Regions from separate parts of the Homo sapiens genome. Here regions 2, 3, 4 and 5 are each linked to region 1. The links are contacts of gene promoters, found by promoter capture Hi-C in blood cells and fetal thymus (Javierre and others, 2016). All regions are on one chromosome and are shown on one strand. The core of a region is centred on a gene start or on the middle of the fragment in contact, and the rest is flanking DNA. Distances in the headings are between cores, read along the strand shown. Region 1 holds the start of ZNF700 (zinc finger protein 700). Region 2 holds the start of DHPS (deoxyhypusine synthase). Region 3 holds the start of ZNF564 (zinc finger protein 564). Region 4 overlaps ZNF564 (zinc finger protein 564). Region 5 has its middle 11 kb from the start of ZNF709.

What was found. The method cuts DNA at HindIII sites, captures the fragments that hold promoters and counts their contacts. A CHiCAGO score of 5 or more calls a contact.
Region 2: the fragment with the promoter of DHPS here is called in contact with the fragment with the promoter of ZNF700 in region 1 in 1 of 17 cell types (total CD4 T cells); the score reaches 5.0 in total CD4 T cells.
Region 3: a contact is called between the fragment with the promoter of ZNF564 here and the fragment with the promoter of ZNF700 in region 1, in 2 of 17 cell types (total CD8 T cells and megakaryocytes). The highest score is 5.3, in total CD8 T cells.
Region 4: a fragment that was not itself captured here is called in contact with the fragment with the promoter of ZNF700 in region 1 in 1 of 17 cell types (erythroblasts); the score reaches 5.3 in erythroblasts.
Region 5: a fragment that was not itself captured here is called in contact with the fragment with the promoter of ZNF700 in region 1 in 10 of 17 cell types (naive CD4 T cells, naive CD8 T cells, M1 macrophages and 7 more); the score reaches 7.8 in naive CD4 T cells.

The regions. Positions count from the first base shown.
Region 1 is chr19:11,923,567-11,927,088 of GRCh38, forward strand. ZNF700 (zinc finger protein 700) reads left to right here and starts at 1,541. Exons shown (of 4, transcript NM_144566.3): 1 at 1,541-1,707. The coding sequence starts at 1,645. It also overlaps a transcript of ZNF69 not described here. RefSeq lists enhancers at 1-237, 238-1,027, 1,184-1,756, 1,204-1,253, 1,304-1,413 and a silencer at 1,804-2,003. The HindIII fragment of the contact is 3,475 bases long and covers 1-3,162 here.
Region 2 is chr19:12,679,945-12,683,466 of GRCh38, forward strand. DHPS (deoxyhypusine synthase) reads right to left here and starts at 1,936. Exons shown (of 9, transcript NM_001930.4): 1 at 1,616-1,936; 2 at 217-381. The coding sequence starts at 1,822. RefSeq lists cis regulatory regions at 1,167-1,667, 1,693-2,227 and enhancers at 1,587-2,110, 1,751-2,045, 2,111-2,633, 3,157-3,522. The HindIII fragment of the contact is 4,796 bases long and covers 1,347-3,522 here.
Region 3 is chr19:12,549,973-12,553,494 of GRCh38, forward strand. It overlaps ZNF564 (zinc finger protein 564), which reads right to left and starts at 1,510. Exons shown (of 4, transcript NM_144976.4): 1 at 1,358-1,510. The coding sequence starts at 1,360. LINC02926 (long intergenic non-protein coding RNA 2926) reads left to right here and starts at 1,754. Exons shown (of 2, transcript NR_187485.1): 1 at 1,754-2,897; 2 at 3,403-3,522. RefSeq lists enhancers at 147-649, 1,308-1,417, 1,483-1,777, 2,561-3,062, 3,063-3,522 and a silencer at 998-1,077. The HindIII fragment of the contact is 25,081 bases long and covers 1-2,517 here.
Region 4 is chr19:12,525,123-12,528,644 of GRCh38, forward strand. ZNF564 (zinc finger protein 564) reads right to left here. Exons shown (of 4, transcript NM_144976.4): 2 at 3,448-3,522; 3 at 3,182-3,242; 4 at 251-2,794. The coding sequence ends at 1,324. Among named protein-coding and RNA genes, the nearest start is that of ZNF564, 25 kb to the right of the region's middle. The HindIII fragment of the contact is 920 bases long and covers 1,367-2,286 here.
Region 5 is chr19:12,494,035-12,497,556 of GRCh38, forward strand. No RefSeq gene overlaps it. Among named protein-coding and RNA genes, the nearest start is that of ZNF709, 11 kb to the left of the region's middle. RefSeq lists enhancers at 488-1,368, 1,369-2,248, 1,510-1,589 and a silencer at 1,270-1,319. The HindIII fragment of the contact is 913 bases long and covers 1,138-2,050 here.

The sequences.
Region 1 (3,522 bases), core at 291-2,790:
CCTCTCTCCCACCAGCCTGGCCTGGAGGTGCTGCAGTGTCATTGACTGCGAGTCCCTCAGCTGCCACCTCCACCGCGATCTGGAAGTCTTTCAAATGCCCTTAAGTTATCTTAGATTTTTCCTCCCCCACTTTATACATAAGCATAGGAGGAGAGCAGGGACTCTGCTGGTGTCTTATTTACACAATGGGATTGAAGGTGTTTGTCTCGCGAAACTAATCGATGGGGTGAGAAGTAGCTGAATAACCTGCAGGGGGCAGCAGAGCCCAAGGCCAGTGATTCCACGTTGAGGACAGTCTCTGCAGCCTGCAAAGGGAGGGAAAGAGAGTTTCCCTGGGGGCTTCGCGGGCAGCCCACCCCCTTCTACAAGTGGCCTCCAGCTGCTCAGAGCAGCTCCAGAAAGGGTGTGGATTCCGAGAAGCTGCAGAGCCCTGGAAAGCAGAAGACCCATGTGCAGACGCATTTGTGGCGTCTCTGTCCTTTCTGGTGTTGTACCTCTGGAGCTGTCTTCTGGGCAGGGTTTGGGGTTTGACATGCATGGGGTCGTTGGGGTCAGAGTTATTTGTATAGATAAAGAAAATGTGTGGCCGGGCGCGGTGGCTCACGCCTGTAATCCCAGCACTTTGCGGGGCCGAGGCGGGCGGATCAAGAGGTCAGAAGATCGAGACCATCCTGGCTAACACGGTGAAACCCCGTCTCCACTGAAAATACAAAATATTAGCCGGGCGTGGTGGCGGGCGCCTTTAATCCCAGCTACTCCGGAGGCCGAGGTAAGAGAATGGCGTGAACTCGGGAGGCGGAGCTTGCAGTGAGTCGAGATCGCACCACTGCACTCCAGCCTGGGCTACAGAGCAAGACTCCGTCTCAAAAAAAAAAAAAAAAAAAGAAAGAAAGAAAAGAAAATGTGTGAAGATCAGGCTAGAGCTAGAGACAGAATTGTTTGGTGGCGTCACCTGGATAAAGGGTTCATGAAGTTGACAGTTTACTTAGGTCAGAAACAAAACCTGGTGAGAGTTTCCTGCTGGTGAAAATGAAGATCTGAAAGGAGGAAGCATTTTCACAAGGGGATGGGGGTGTGTGAGCAAGGCTTGGCCACGCCTCATCCCCAATTCCGGCCCGCTCGAGGACATATGCCTCTCCTCCTGGTGCAGTCGTGCCTGGCCTGGTCTCGGTTCCCCTGCTGCTCTGAGGCCAGCAGTTGGCTCCTATGGACACTGAGTCTGAAATTCCCTGCACACTCCTGTGACCCCGTGCAGAACGAAGGAGCGGGGACTGTCCCTTGAGTGAGGATGACGCTAGTGTTCTCTTCTATCAATAGCAAGTTTGGCTGAAATGCAAATATCCAATAACCAGAGTGCAGAAAGCAGCTCGCCCTTAGAGAAGCTGTGGCTAGAATCCGTCAGTCTGGCTCTGCGGGGCCTGATACCCAGGGCTTCAGCTGTCACTCAGATGTGGGGGGCGGGACCTAGTATTTCATCCAATCAGAGGTGCTGGGGCGTGGCACTGCCCACAGTTCATCCGGAAATGGAGGGGGTCGCTTTCCTCACCTTCCTCGCTGCGCGGGCGGCGGTTGGTAACCGGTCAGACCAGCCCGAGAGGGACCTGGTGCCTGTACCCAGGCTTCTGTCGCTCTGTCGCCTGCGCTATGCCCTGCTGTAGTCACAGGAGCTGTAGAGAGGACCCCGGTACATCTGAAAGCCGGGAAATGGTGCGTGTGCGGGACCAGATGTCGTGAGACGGGGGAGGGGCTGCCTGGAACAGGCGGGAACCGGCTGTGGCGGGACCCGGGCCTCCCTGTGGGCGACTCCGGGGTCTGGGACCGAGTCCTCCTTGAGCAGTTCGGCCCTCGGTCCCCTTGGCCGCTGGACGGGGCTGGGCCAGCAGCCAGGACCCGGGCGTCCTGTCCCGTCCCTGCGCGGCGACTGCGGCCGCGGCCCCTGCCCCGGAGCCCTCTCTGGGCAGTTCCGCTCCCGCAGCCCCGCGTCTCCCCAGATTGTGCGGAAGCAACGGGAGGGTCATGGAGGCATCCTGACTCGGGTGTGGGGTTCGTGCGTGGGAGGAGCAGTGGTCTGTGGGGCCCCCAGTCCCCACTTTCTCCTGTTAAAAATTAAACTGAGGTACGTTAACAATTAAAGAGTTCATTTGAGCAAACAGCGATTCACGAATGAGAAACACCCCGTCCTGGGTTGTGGTTTGTCAACGGAAAAAGCCAAACTATGTAAAATAAAGAAGTTTATTCAGAGCCGAATAGGAGAGACCTTGGCCGAGGGAAACACAACCCCAAGCAGCCTGGAGTAAGTGGTCCCGAGGCGGCTCAAGACAGTTTGGTTTTATTCATTTCAGAGAGACAGGAATTGCAGGGAAAATGATGAATCAGTGCCTGAAAGGTGTAAGTTCCATTGGCAGAAAGGGTGGGACCTGTGGAAGGGGGGTTAGAAGGCACAGGTGGTTGAGGGATTCTGTAGGTGGCAGCTGGTTGAGAGTGTGAAGTTTGTCTAAAGTTTGGAGGAGGTAGGAAGGAAGGGGGTCTGTTATCTGCCACTTGATTCCATCCCAGCCAGAAAACAGACCTGTTTCTCTAGATTTTATGAATTCTGAGGCGTGACTTTACTTTTGCCTTGCGTGGCCTTAGGTTTTGTTTGTAAGTTAGTATCTTCTTGCCACAAGCAGTCTGTTTTTCCATTCTATCTATTTTTACATGAATGTGTGGGAGAGGGTATAAGGAGACCTGTCTCACCTCCCATCCTGTCATACAGAGGCACTCAATTTTCAGGGTTTTTTGCGGGTCCTGTTGGCCAAGAGCCGGTCACTTCACTTAGCTGGAAAGGTACTTTGTTTTTATTTGAGACGGAGTCTCCTGTCGCCCAGACTGGAGTGCAATGGCCTGATCTCGGCTCACTGCAACCTCCACCTTCCGGGTTCAAGTGATTCTCCTGCCTCAGCCTCCTGAGTAGCTGGGATTGCAGGCATGCACCACTATGCCCTCCTAATTTTTGTATTTTTAGTAGAGATGGGGTTTCACCATGTTGGCCAGGCTGGTCTCGAACTCCTGACCTCAAGTGATCCACCCACCTCAGCCTCCCAAAGTGCTGGGATTACAGATGTGAGCCATCTCGCCGGGCCAGAGGTATGTTTTTATTTTTAGTTTACCAGTTTAGGGGTAAGCTTTTATAAGTTACGTGAGGAGACAAACCAGATAAATGCTTGATTGGTTGCAGAGATGCAGTTGCCTTATTTGGACTTGTCACTCCGAAATAATAGAAAGGTCAAGATTTCAGTTGGAAGAGTTTATTCAAGCGGAAGGATAGCAGTGGCCCATTTGGGAAAAACACAGACTCTAGGGAAATAGACTCAGTACTCCAAAACTGGAAGTTAAGTTCTTGCTTGTATTACCAGGAAAAGAGGTCCTGATCAGACCCCAGGAGAGTTCTTGAATCTCACACAGGAAGGAATTCAAGACGAGTCACAAAGTGCAGTGAGAAGAGAGTTTATTGAAAGCTACTCTGGGCCAGCATGATGGCTT
Region 2 (3,522 bases), core at 686-3,185, 760 kb after region 1:
TTGGCCCAAGAAGGAAGCCCCTGCCCTCATTCTGGGCAGAACTTCTAACCTCATCCTTGTCCAGTGACTCTTATGAGGGAGCTCTGCTACAAAACAAAACTTGATTCTATTCCTCTGCTTATAACAGACCCCTATCTGCCCATCTCACTTAAACGATCAATAACTGCATTGCCCATTGACCCAGAGGCCAAGGCCACGGCCTCACCAGGTCCCCACCATGTTGTGCTGCACAAGGTAGCGAATGGTCTCACGGATGCCTGAACTGATGAGGTTGGATGTATATCCCAGGAAAATGGTGCAGCTGGTAAGTGGGCGGCGGCTCTGGGTCAGGTCCGCGTGCTGGTCTTCATCCTGTGACAGTGGTTCCAGCTTCTTCTCGATCTGTGAGTAAGGGCCAAGTCAAGTTAAGCACTGGCCTTAAATCCCAGACTCAGGACTCCAGGTGGGCTCCAGAAACAGATTTCACCCCAGGCCCTGCACATTCAGGGATACAGGACCAGTTCTACAGGGGACCAAGGAACATCTCCTGTGTAAACTCTGCCCCTTCCCAGACCAGATCTCAAGACACACGTTCAGGATTTGCCCCCACCCTTTTTTTTTTTTTTTTGGACGGAGTTTCACTCTTGTTACCCAGGCTAGAGTGCAATGGCGCGATCTCGGCTCACTGCAAGCTCCACCTCCCGGGTTCAAGCGATTCTCCTGCCTCAGCCTCCCGAGTAGCTGGGACTACAGGCGCGCACCACCATGCCCGGCTAATTTTTTGCATTTTAGTAGAGACGGGGTTTCTCCATGTTGGTCAGGCTGGTCTCGAACTCCCGACCTCAGGTGATCCGCCCGCCTCGGCCTCCCAAAATGCTGAGATTACAGGCATGAGCCACCGTGCCCGGCCTTTTTTTTTTTTTTTTTTTGAGACAGAGTATCGCTCTGTCACCAGGCTGGAGTGCAGTGGCGCAATCTCAGCTCACTGCAACCTCCACCTCGCGGGTTCAAGCGATTCTCCTGCCTCAGCCTCCCGAGTAGCTGGGACTACAGGCGCGCAACACCATGCCCGGCTAATTTTTTGCATTTTAGTAGAGACAGGGTTTCACCATGTTGGCCAGGCTTGTCTCGAACTCCTCTTCTCTTGATCCACCCGCCTCGGCTTCCCAAAATGCTGGGATTATAGGCATGCGCCACCGCGCCCAGCCAGCCCCCACCCTTTTAGGAATCAGAGAGCATCTCCTTTCAGATCCGGTCCCTTCCCCGCTGGGAAAAGCAAATCTAAATTCAAGAACCGCCCAGACTTAGGCTCCTCCTCCCATATCCTCCCTTAATTTGTCTTGCCCCAGGCTCCGCCCATTCCAGAAAGCTTTAAATGTACCTAGAACCCGCCCCCACACCAAGAATCAGTCCTCGCCTCCTCAGGTTACCGTACCAGCATGTAACTACCAGAGTGCAAAATCCCCTTCCCAGGACAGAAACTCCCGCCCAGAATAGGTCCCGCCTTCCTCCAACTATTGGGCAACTCAAATAAAAGACATATCCCCTCCACTGGAAACGCTGCCCCCGTCTAGTACCGCGTTGGTTCTACAAGCCACGCCCCTCCGCGTCCCTAGAAATTCCGCCCGGTCCTCACCATGGCATTGACTTGCTGTACAGCGCGCCCGAAGTTGGTTGCTTGGAAGCCGGTGGTGCCGAAGGCCTCCAGCAGTGCGCGGTAATTCACACCGCGGTTGAAGTCGTAGCCCCGGACCTGGGTGCTTTCGGGCGGCAACGTCGAGCTGTGCTTTAGCACGGCGGCCAGCGCCCCCGCTGGCGCCTCCCGTTCCAGGGAACCTTCCATGCGCCTATAGCCGGCTCTCGAGTCAAAGCTGCCCCTAGGCCGGGCTTACGGCGGCCCAGAAACGCGTTAAACCCCGACGCGCGCGTCTCCGCAAGAGCACAGGAAGTAGGGAACGTGCTTTGGGCGAAAGACCGGAAGTTGGTTTATCACGTGACCATTTTTAGCCCCTGTAAACCAGGTCGCCGCCATTTTTGTGCGTGTGTTCCGTAATACGGAAGCCGCGAGGAGCCTTTAGGCCCTTTCTTTCTTTTTTTTTTTTTTTTTTTTTTTGAGACGGAGTCTCGCTCTGTCACCCAGGCTGGAGTGCAGTGGCGCGATCTCAGCTCACTGCCAGCTCCGCTTTCCGGGTTCACGCTGTTCTCCTGCCTCAGCCTCCCGAGTAGCTGGGACTACAGGCGCCCACCACCACGCCCGGCTAATTTTTTTGTATTTTTAGTAGAGACGGGGTTTCACCTGGTCTCGATCTCCTGACCTCGTGATTCGCCCGCCTCGGCCTCCCAAAGTGCTGGGATTACAGGCGTGACCCACCGCGCCCGGCGCCTTTAGGCCTTTTCTTCCTTTTTTTTTCTTTTTTTTTTTTTTGATACAGGGTTTCGCTCTTGTTGCCCAGGCTGGAGTGCAATTGCCCGATCTCAGCTCACCACAACCTCCACATTCCGGGTTCAAGCGATTCTCCTGCCTCAGCCTCCCGAGTAGCTGGGACTACTGGCATGCACCGCCATGCCCGGCTAATTTTGTATTTTTAGTAGAGGCGGGGTTTCTCCCTGTTGGTCAGGCTGGTCTCGAACTTCCGACCTCAGGTTATCCGCCCGCCTCAGCCTCCCAAAGTGCTGGGATTACAGGCGTGAGCCACTGCGCTTCGGCCTTTACTTGTTTTCATGTGTTCTCGACTTCCCATGAATGAAGATTCTTTTTTATTTTTATTATTTATTTATTTAATTTATTTTTGAGACAAGAGTTACACGCTCTTGTTACGCAGGCTGGAGTGCGGTGGTGCAATCTTGACTCATTGCAACCTCTGCCCCCCTGGTTCAAGCGATTCTCCTGCCTCAGCCTCCCGAGTTGCTGGGATTACAGACACCCACCACCAGGCCTGGCTAATTTTTTATTTTTAGTAGAGATGGCATTTCACCATGTTGGCGAGGCTGGTTCTGCCCTCAGGTGACCGCCCGCCTGGGCTTTCCAAAGTGCTGAGATTACAGGTGTGAGCCACCGTCCCCAGCCAAAATTCCTATTTTAATGCCACCTGCTGGAGACCCACTGCTTGGCCCGGCACTCGCCCATTCGTTTCTGTTCTGTCCCCTCGGGAGGGGAGGATGGTTTTGTTGTTGTTGTTGCTGTTTTGTTTGTTTGTTTGTTTGAGCTAGAGTCTTGCGCTGTCTCCCAGGCTGGAGTGCAGTGGCACGATCTCGGCTCACTGCAACCTCCGCCTCCCAGGTTCACGCCATTCTTCTGCCTCAGCCTCCCCAGTAACTGGGACTACAGGCGCCGGCCACCACGCCCGGCTAATATTTTGTATTTTTAGTAGAGACGGGGTTTCACCGTGTTAGCCAGGGTAGTCTCGATCTCCTGACCTCGTGATCCGCCCGCCTCAGCCTCCCAAAGTGCTGGGATTACAGGCATGAGCCACCGCGCCTGGCCTGCTGCTATTTTTTGATAGGGTCTCACTCTGTCGCCAGGCTGGAGTGCTGTGACGCGAT
Region 3 (3,522 bases), core at 260-2,759, 630 kb after region 1:
AGATAAAAGGAGGGGAAGCACAAAAATTTTTTTACCACGGCCGGGCGCGGTGGCTCACGCCTGTAATCCCAGCACTTTGGGAGGCCGAGGCAGGCGGATCACCTGAGGTCGGGAGTTCGAGACCAGCCTGGCCAACATGGAGAAACCCTGTCTCTACTAAAAATACAAAATTAGCCGGGCATGGTGGCGCATGCCTGTAATCCCAGTTACACGGGAGGCTGAGGCAGGAGAATCGCTTGAACCCAGGAGGTGGAGGTTGCAGTGAGCTGAGATCGCGCCATTGCACTCCAGCCTGGGCAATAAGAGCGAAACTCTGTCTCAAAAAAAAAAAAAAATTTTACCGTAGAGTGTCAGGTTCTTATTCTCCGTTTCCCTCTCAGGTTACAAGTACACAAACAAGAGGCCGGGCGCGGTGGCTCACGTCTGTAATACCAGCATTTTGGGAGGCGGAGGTGAGCGGATCACCTGAGGTCTGGAGTTTGAGACCAACCTGGCCAACATGGAGAAACCCAGTTTCTACCAAAAATACAAAAAGTAGCCGGTCGTGGCGGCGCATGCCTGTAATCCCAGTTACTCAGGAGGCTGAGGCAGGAGAATTGCTTGAACCCGGAAGGCGAAGGTTGCAGTGAGCTGAGATCTTCCCACTGCACTCCAGCCTGGGCGACAGAGCGAAACTCTGTCTGAAAAGAAAAAAAAAACAACAAACAGAAAACAAATCCTTTCAAAAGAGTATGGTGAAAGAAACTATAAACAACTAAAATACTGTGTCTTAAATGTCAAACAAAAAACAGCTGATAATGTTGATTTGGCGAGGGGAGGTCACCTTTGGGAATGCGGGGAAGGAACCGGAAATTTAGGCATTTATTTCCAGCCCCAGAAAAAGCTAGGCTAAAAAAAACGGGAGTCGTAGGTTTGAGATTCTTTTTCCAGTACGTTTGGAAGACTCGGAGGAAGACCAGTCCCCCGGAAAAAAAGACGATGTACTGGGAAGGCCACAGCCCACAGCTCTTCCCATGCACGAACCGCACACCCGAGACGGGATTCCGCCTTATGACCCTCCCGTGTCCCAGTACAAACAATCTGGAGAGAGGCGGGGCTGCGGGCGCGGAGCTGCCCAGACAGGGCTCCGAGGCCGAGGCCGCAGTCGCCGCGCAGGGACGGGACAGGACGCCTGGGGTACTGGCTACGGCCCAACCCACCCTGCGGCCGAGGGGACAGAGGGCCGAGCTGCGCCAGGGAACTCGGGTCCCAGACCCTGGAGTCGCTGCAGGGAGGCCAGGGTGCTTCCACAGCCGGTTCCGGCCGGTTCCCACAAGCCCCTCCCCCAGTCTCCAGGCGCCCGGCCCCGCACACGCACCATTTCCTGGCTTCCAGGGTGTCCCGGGGTCCTGCCTACGGCTCTCTCCGGCCTGTGCAGGTCCCAGCGCGCCAGACGCTGCGGTGGAGCCACCGGGGCCACTGGAGAAGCGGAGACCGGAACCCAAACGCAGCGGACACGAAACAGGAAGACCCCGCGGAGTTGTTGAACATTGCCCCTGTCCCCCTTGCAGAGTTCCTGATTGGATGGTTTGCAGGTTCCCGCCCCAGTGCCCCTGATTGGGTGATGATTCAAGTCCTGCCCCCTTGGTACTGAGTGACAGGAGAAGCAATGCGGTATGTGGCTGAGTAAAGACAGATTGACAGGGTCTTGGCCACTGCCCTTCGCGGGCCGGGCTTCCTCCTTCTGTAACCTTCTGTGCCGGGGAGGATATTTGCATTTAAGCAGAAAGTGTTTCAGGCTCTGCAGAGGTGACACTGGCGTGTTTCTGCACTCAGGGTGCCCTTCCTGCCTTTTCCTCCCGGACACAGAGTCACAAGTGTGCACAGGGAATGACAGACTCGGCGTCCAGTGGAGCCATCCCCTGGCCTCGGAGTAGGAGGCGCGCCCAGGCCAGGCCAGACCACAGTGTAACAGGAGGGAGGAGGGCTTGCTTCTTTCAGGCAAGAAAATTAAAACGGACAAAGAAATAAAAGTATTAAATGTATAGGAAAAACTGGAGTTTTTATGACAGCGATCATCTATAAAGAAACCAAGAGAAGTAAGCAAACATTTGAACTAGCTCAGACAAGCAGCCTGCTTCACCCGCAGTTCACAAGGAAAACCCACAATCATAACGTTAAAAATATTCCCAAGCGCCGGGCGCGGTGGCTCACGCCTGTAATCCCAGAACTTTGGAAGGCCAAGGTGAGAAAATTGCTTAAGGTCAGGAGTTCAAGACCAGCCTAACCAACATGGTGAAACCCCATCTCTACTAAAAATACAAAAATTAGCCAGGCGTGGTGGCAGGTGCCTGTAATCCCAGCAACTCGGGAAGCTGAGGTACGAGAATCGCTTGAACCTGGGAGGGGGAAGTTGCAGTGAGCCGAGATAGCGCCATTGCACTCCAGCCTGGGCGACAGAGCGAGACTAAAAAATGAAATATGAAATGAAATGAAATAATGAAATGAAGAAATGAAATATAAAATAAAATAATCCCAAGCTTGGGACCCAGACTCTAACTGCTGAAATGGAACCCCAGTGTGGATCAGAACCTGGTGATGAGACAGGGACACTTAAGAATTCAACTTTGGGAGCTCAAGGTGCCCTCCAGTCCTCTCCTCACAGTGTGGAAACACTCTTTCCTTCAAAACCTTCATTTGTACCAGCAGGAAACTCTCACCCGGAGTCAATGTAAAGTCGTGACCTAAATAAATTGTCATGTTCCCAAACCTTTTCTCCAGGGGACAATGCAAACAAGTTTTTCACTGAGTCTGACCCTCACAGATTTTCTTCATGTATACAAATTACAGCCTGACTCAGCGACCCCATGAATGCTAAAACCAAAACACTGTCCAGGAAATGGCCCCAGGCGCCAAAGGTACAACCTCAGAAAAGACAGAACCCTCCACCCCCAACCCAACCACATCTGCACATGGGTCTCCTGCTTTTCACAGCTCTGCAGCTTCTCAGAATCCACATTCCTGGCCAGGCGCGGTGGCTCACGCCAGCACTTTGAGAGGCCCAGGCGGGCGGATCACCTGAGGTCAGGAGTTCGAGACCAGCCTGGCCAAATGGTGAAACCTCGTCTATAGTAAAAATACAAAAATTAGCCGGGCGTGGTGGCGCGTGCCTGTAATCCCAGCCACTCGGGAGGCTGAGGCAGGAGAACCGCTTGAACCCGGGAGGCAGAGGTTGCAGTAAGCCCAGACTGCGCCACTGCACTCCAGCCTGGGTGCCAAAACAGTGAGACTCTGCCTCAAAAAAATAATAAAAGTAAAAAATAAAATTAAAATTAAAAAAAGAATCTGCACTCCTGAGCAGCTGGAGGCCACCTGCAAGGGCGGGCAGGCTGCCCAAGAAGCACCCTTTCCCTCTCTTTGCAGGCTCCAGACTGGTCTCAGGCTCTCCTGCCCACTGCAGTTTATTCACTTGCTTCTCACCAACACTGATCCACTTAGGTAAGAAAAAAGACCTTCAATCCCCTTTGCTGTTTGTTTGTTTTT
Region 4 (3,522 bases), core at 577-3,076, 600 kb after region 1:
TCCCGGGTTCATGCCATTCTCCTGCCTCAGCCTCCCGAGCAGTTGGGACTACAGGCGCCTGCCACCACGCCCGGCTAATTTTTTTTTAGTAGAGACGGGGTTTCATCATGTTAGCCAGGATGGTCTCAATCTCCTGACCTTGTGATCCGCCTGCTTCGGCCTCCCAAAGTGCTGGGATTACAAGCGTGATCCACCACGCCCGGCCCTGCTTTCAATCTTTTTATTTTCCCAGAAATGGAAATGCTGATCATATGTTATTTCTATATTTTAATCTGGGGATCTGCCATACTGTTTTCAGCAGGCTTATACCACTGTACATTCCCAGTGATAGTGCACAATGTTCTCCAACATTCCACATCCTTGACAGTATTTCTTGTTTTCCATCTTTGATACTACTAATCCTAATGAGATGCTATGTATGTCTTGAGTTTGATTTGTATTTCCCTAATGACTAAAGATGTCGAGCATTGTTACGTGCTTATTGGCCATCTGGGTATCTTCTTTGGAGAAATGTCTATTCAAGTCCTTTCCTCCATTTTAAAATTGGATTGTGTCTTAGCTTGGGTTGCTAAAACAAAATACCATAAATTGGAAAGCTTAATTAATCAACAAACATTTATTTCTCATGGTTTGGGAGGCTGGGAAGTCCAATATCAAGGCACTGGCATAGTCCATGTCTGGTAAGGGCCTGCTTCCCGGTTCAAAGATAGCTATCTTCTCACTGCACCCTCTCATGGTGAAGGGCAAAGCTAGCTCTCTAGGGATTCCTATCAGGAAACTAATCCCAATTACAAGGCCTCCATCTTCATGATGTCCTCCAATCCTAAAAACCACCAGAGACAGGGCCTCCAAATACCATCACATTGTGGGGGAGAGGGGGGGCACGGGGGTAAGGTTTCAACATATGAATCTGAGGTGGCATACACTCAGCCAAAACATTACACCTCTGGCCCCCAAAATCCATGTCATCACATGTAAAATATATTCATCTCATCCCAAAGGCCTCAAAAGTCTCAGTTAATTCCAGCATGAAGCCTAATGTTTAAACTCAAACTCCAAAGTGTCATCTCAATATCACATCACTCAGATATGGATGAGACTCAATTCATGCTGAGGCAAAATTCTTCTTCAGCTCCGAACCGGTGAAAACCAAACTAGTCATGTATTTCCAAAATATGAGACAGGCACAGGATAGAGATTCCTATTCCAAAAGTGAGAAACAGGAGAAAGGGGTGAGCTCCCAAACAAGTCTGAAACCCAGAAAGCAAACTGAAGACTTTCCATATTCTTTAGATATGTAGATACTTGTAGACCTGTCCTCCACTATTCATTTTCACAGGTATTCGAAGGTTGTGTGATAAATGAAAGCTTTCCCACATTCTTTACGTAAGGTTTATCTCCATTATGAGCTCTTTCATGTCTTTGAAAGGAACTGGAATAACTGAACGTTTTTCCACATTGCTTACATTCATAGGGTTTTTCTCCGGTATGAGTTCTTTCATGTATTCTAATGGAACTGGCATAATTGAATGCTTTCCCACATTCTTTACATTCATAGGGTTTTTCTCCAGTATGAGTTCTTTCATGTGTTCGGACAGAACTAGGACAGTCAAAGGCTTTACCACATACCTGACATTTATAAGGTCCATCTCCAGTGTGCAGTATCATATGTTTTCTAATCCTTTTAAGAGAAATGAAGGCTTTCCCACATACCTGACATTCATAGGGTTTCTCTCCAGTGTGAGTTCTTTCGTGTATTTGAAATGAACTGGGACAGTCAAAGGCTCTACCACATACCTGACATTTATAAGGTCCATCTCCAGTGTGCTTTATCATGTGTCTTCGGACACTTGGGAGAGAAATGAAGGCTTTCCCGCATTCCTTACATTCATAGGGCTTCTCTCCAGTGTGAGTCCTTTCATGTGTTCGAACATTACTGGAAGAACTGAAGGTTTTACCACATTTATTACATTCATAGGGTTTCTCCCCAGTATGAGTTCTTTCATGCTTTCGAACATAACTGGGAAAAATAAAGGCTCTCCCACATACTTTACATTTATAAGGTCCATCCCCAGTGTGCCTAATCATATGACTTTGAAAATTTGTGAAAGAAATGAAGGCCTTCCCACACTGTTTACATTCATGGGGTTTCTCTCCAGTATGAGTTCTTTCATGTATTCGAAATAAACTGGGGCGGTCAAAGGCTTTTCCACATTCCTGACATTTATAAGGTCCATCTCCAGTGTGCCTAATCATGTGTCTTTGAAAACTTGGAAGAGAAATGAAAGCTTTTGCACATTCCTGACATTCATAGGGTTTCTCTCCAGTGTGAGTTCTTTCATGTATCTGAAATAAACTTGGGCGATCAAAGGCTTTCCCACATTCCTGACATTTATATGGTCCATCTCCAGTGTGCTTAATCATGTGTCTTCGAACACTTGGGAGAGAAATGAAGGCTTTCCCACATTCCGGACATGCATAGGGTTTCTCACCAGTGTGAGTTCTTTCATGTCTTCGAAAGGATTGACAAGAACTGAAGGCTTTCCCACACTGCTTACATTTATATGGTTTCTCTCCATATTCCTGATAGTCATATGGTTTGTGTCCAAGGTGAGATCTGATGTGCCTACTAAGGGATGAATGATGCATGAAGACTTTCCCACACAAACTACATTCACATGGTCTTACTATAGTAGGAATTTTCTTGTTCAGATTAAGATTGAGAATCTGACTGAAGGCTTCTCCACATTGATCATATTCTTTACTTTCACTGAGTCCCTCTTCCATATGATTTCTGGAAAAAATAGAAAGCAAGATTTAGTGGTTTGTGACTTTATATTTATTAATAGGTATTCGACTTACATTTTTACCATAATCGCGGAAAGGGTAAGTTTTCAGGCCTGTATGAATTGTTTGAAAGTGAATGGATGGAATGCTCTGCAAGAGAGCTTGACAGTAGCTATCACCAAAAAAGTGATATCCATATATACAGTTTCTTAATACTATTTCCAAGTGAATGATTTTGCAACACTGAACATCTATGCCACTTTTTCTTTTTCTGGTGAAAAAGTTGTAGGAATAAATAAATCTGAAGCTGGGCTTACTGGTTTGTTTACTTATTTTTAAAATTTCATGACATACTAAGAAGGAGACATTGCTTTATCTTGTCAGTGCAAATTACCTTAAAATTCTCCCCTGATTTTTGTACCAATCTTCAATGCTCTGGTCTTCCCATTTTTTTCCTAAAATATAGTCAGAAAAAATCCTTATGAACTGATAGACATTACAGAAAAATGACTAGATTCTAAGTTCATGATAAGGTGCAAACAACCCTGATTTATTCACCCAAGTATTCCCTTTTCCACATTAGACATCATGAAAAAGCATTAAAAAGCAAGAAATACTTCTTCTCTAACTGACTAAAAGAAGGAATGATGTCATCCTTACCTACACAGGCCAGGTTTCTAAAGGTTTCCCGCATCACATCTCTGTAGAGTTTCTTCTGGGAAGGATCCAGCAAAG
Region 5 (3,522 bases), core at 344-2,843, 570 kb after region 1:
CAAAACTATTATACAATGAGATATCATCTCACCCCTGTTAAAATGGCTTTTATCCAAAAGTCAGGCAGTAACAAATGCTGGAGAGGATGTGGAGAAAAGGGAACCTTTGTACACTGTTGGTGGGAATGTAAATTAGTACAACCACTATAGAGAACAGTTTGGAGGTTCCACACACACAAAAAAAATAAAAATAGAGCTGCCATTTGATCCAGCAACCCCACTTTTAGGTAAATACCCCAAAGAAAGGAAATCCATGTATTGAAGAGAGATATCTGCACTCCTATGTTTATTGCAGCATTATTCACAATCCCCAAGATTTAGAAGCAACCTAACTGTCCCTCAACAGATGAATGGATTAAAAAAAAAATGTTCCAAATACACAATGGAGTACTATTCAGCCATAAAAAAGAATGAGATCCTGTCATTTGCAACAATTTGGATGGAATTAGAGGTCATTATGTTAAGCGAAATAAGCCAGGCACAGAAAGACAAACTTCACATGTTCTCACTTATTTTTGGGAGCAAAAAATTAAAACAATTGACCTCATGGAGATAGAGAGTAGAAGGATGGTTACCAGAGGCTGGAAAGGGTAGTGCGGGGGTTGGGGGAAGGGGAAGTGAAGATGGTTAATGGCCACAAAAAATAGAATGAATGAGACCTAGTATTTGCTAGCATAACAGGGTGATTATAGTAAAAAATAATTTGGTTGCACATTTTTAAATAACTAAAAGAGTATAATCGGCTTGTTTGTAACACAAAGGATAAATGCTTGAGTTGATGGATTCCCCATTTACCATGATGTGATTATTAGGCATTGCATGCTTACATCAAAATATCTCATGTAACTCATAAATATATACACCTACTATGTACCCACAACAAAACTTAAAATTAAAAATGTAAACATTGCCTGGTCTCTGTGAACCTACGGGGTCACAGTTCTGAGTGTCCTGGCAGCATGATGCCAAGCCACTGTCCTCTGGAGAATATCTGACTCTCCTGATCCAGTATGGCCTTGCCTCCAGGGCCCTTTTGCTGTGGATTTACTCCTCAAAGAGTCAGTCATCAAGGGGTTCGCTTTATCTGGAAACTCTTGTCTGGCATTCCCTGCGCGCACACCTATGTCCCCGTTCAGAAGCTTCTTCGGTAAACGCCAGTGTCCGGTCTGAGGGCCTTTATATCTAGCATATAAAGTTCTGGTATAATGCAAATGTCTCTGGCAGGACAGTTTCAGGGACAAAAGTGGAAGCTGGATCGCTCAGCTACCTGACCTCCGTCTGAGATGTGACTCAGGCAACAGGGGGTGGAACCTCACAAACTGTCCAATTGGAGACGCCGCCGGAGCGGTGGGTGGGGCCGCCCTGTACAAAGGCGCGTGGATACGGTGGCGCGATTTCCAGTTTGTGTCTCTCCTGCCTCGAACGTCGCTAGGTGGCTCTGCCGCAGCCTCTGTCGCTCTGGGACCCGCACTGGCAGAGGGAGTCGTAGTTAGGGGGTGGGGACACCGCGGAAGCCCGGAAATGGTGACTGTGCGGGGCCTGGAATCCCGAGACCTGAAGAGCTGCTGGCCGGAACCGGCTGTCGCGGGAACCGGGCCTGCCCGCGGCCACTCCTGGGTCTGTGAACCCGAGTCCCCCTGGCGTAGCTCGGCCCTCGGCCTCCTCCCGCCGCAGAGTGAAGCTGGGCCGGCAGCCAGGATCCCGGGAGTCCTGTCCTGTCCCCGCGCGGCTACTGAGGCCCGGGTCCCGGAGCCCTGTGTGGGCAGCTCCATGCCCGTAGCCCCGCGTCTTCCAAGATTGTGTGGGGATCACGGGAGGGTCATAGGAGAGAAGGAATCCCGGCTCGAGTGTGGCGTTCGTGCGTGGGAGGAGCGGTGGTCCGTGGGGTCCCCAGTCTCTTCTTTTTCCCCAGGGGGACCGGTTTGCCCCTTAATTTTACAAACGTGTGAAAACAGGATCTCAAATCCACGACCCCGTTTTCCAGCCTAGCTCTTCCTAGGACTGACAGGAAATCCCTAAATTTGCCAATTCCTTCTTTCATTCCAAATGAAGCTTTCCCTCTCCAATTCATAATATTATTATTTGCCCTGTTAAATACAATTTGTAGGAAGCCATTGGTTTAGACTGAGCTCCTGCACTAGACCCAACAGACCAAACCAAAATGAGTTACCCACGGGGACGTTCCTCGCTACCAAGCTGAAACTAAGTTGTTTATCTGACCTTACAAATTATCAGGAGAGAAAGAGATGCTGGTCAAATCCCCAACAGGCCAGTTTTAGCCAACATGATAAAGAAAGTCCCCTCTGCTTTAACTTTTACCAGAAAAGCAACTTTGAAAGTTCCCGTCTTTCAACTGGGCGTGATGGCTCACGCCTGTAATCCCAGCACTTTGGGAGGCCGAGGTGGGTGGATCATTTGAGGTCAGGAGTTCGAGACCAGCCTGGCGAACATGGTGAAACCCTCGTCTCTACTAAAAATACAAAAATTAGCTGCATGATGGCCTGTGCTTGTAGTCCCAGCTACTCAGGGGGCTGAGGTGGGAGGCTCACTTAAGCCCAAGCCCTGGAGGTCGAGGCTGCGGTGAGCTATGATCTCGCCACTGCGCTACAGCCTGGGTGACAGAGGGAGACCCTGTCTCAAAAAAATAAACATCAATAGCGGTTGAAAGCCCCATGACTGGGGAGCAGCAGCCAGAGACTAGTGACTTCAAGCTAAGACCACTCTTGAGCCTGCAAAGGGAGGTCATTGAAAGCCCAGATGGGTCTTCCTGGGGAGCCTTCCCCAAAAGTGTCCTACTTGCTCTCACCCACCAAGGAAAGAGCTCTTTATACAGAGAGAAGCTACAGAGCACTGGAATGCTGGGAACCGCACGCGGTTTTAGGAGAACCGGGAGGGTTTTAATTGTCTAGGTTGTAATTGTAGTTTCCTTGGGTCTACTTTTAGACATTAGGTTTGAGTTTTGCTTTCACATTAGGGTACACTCGTGGTGTAATTTTTCCATATTGAAAAAGTCTGTGAAAGTTACAAGTTCTGTCTCCTGGACATGGTGTTAATGACTTTGGGAGTTCATTTGTGTCAGAACCTTCATCTGAATCCAGCTGACAGTTTCGTCACTTACGAGAACCAGTGGGAAGGGGCATTCTCTGCTCCCGGAGTTCATTCCTGTGGCTGCTCAGGTGTCCCTGCTGTCACCAGGGACTATTCCACTCTAGGGACTATACCCTAACAGGGAGAGAGTGTGGACTCCAAGCTTTGGTATGTGTTTAACCTTCTGGATGTTGGTTTTTCTTCTGAATTGCGGAGAAGCAGGCTGCTTATCTGAGCTGATTCAATGTTTGTGTTTCTTTCCTTTGGATTCCTTTTTCTATTGAATATTGCAGCACTTTAACTCCAGTTTCCTTTAACATTTTGTAATTTTATTCCCTGTATGAGTCTGTAGGATTTTTAGTTTGTTGGTCTTTGAAAATTTAAGTTGATTGAGAAATATGATGTAAGAGAAGCAAATCCTGGAACCAAATAGAA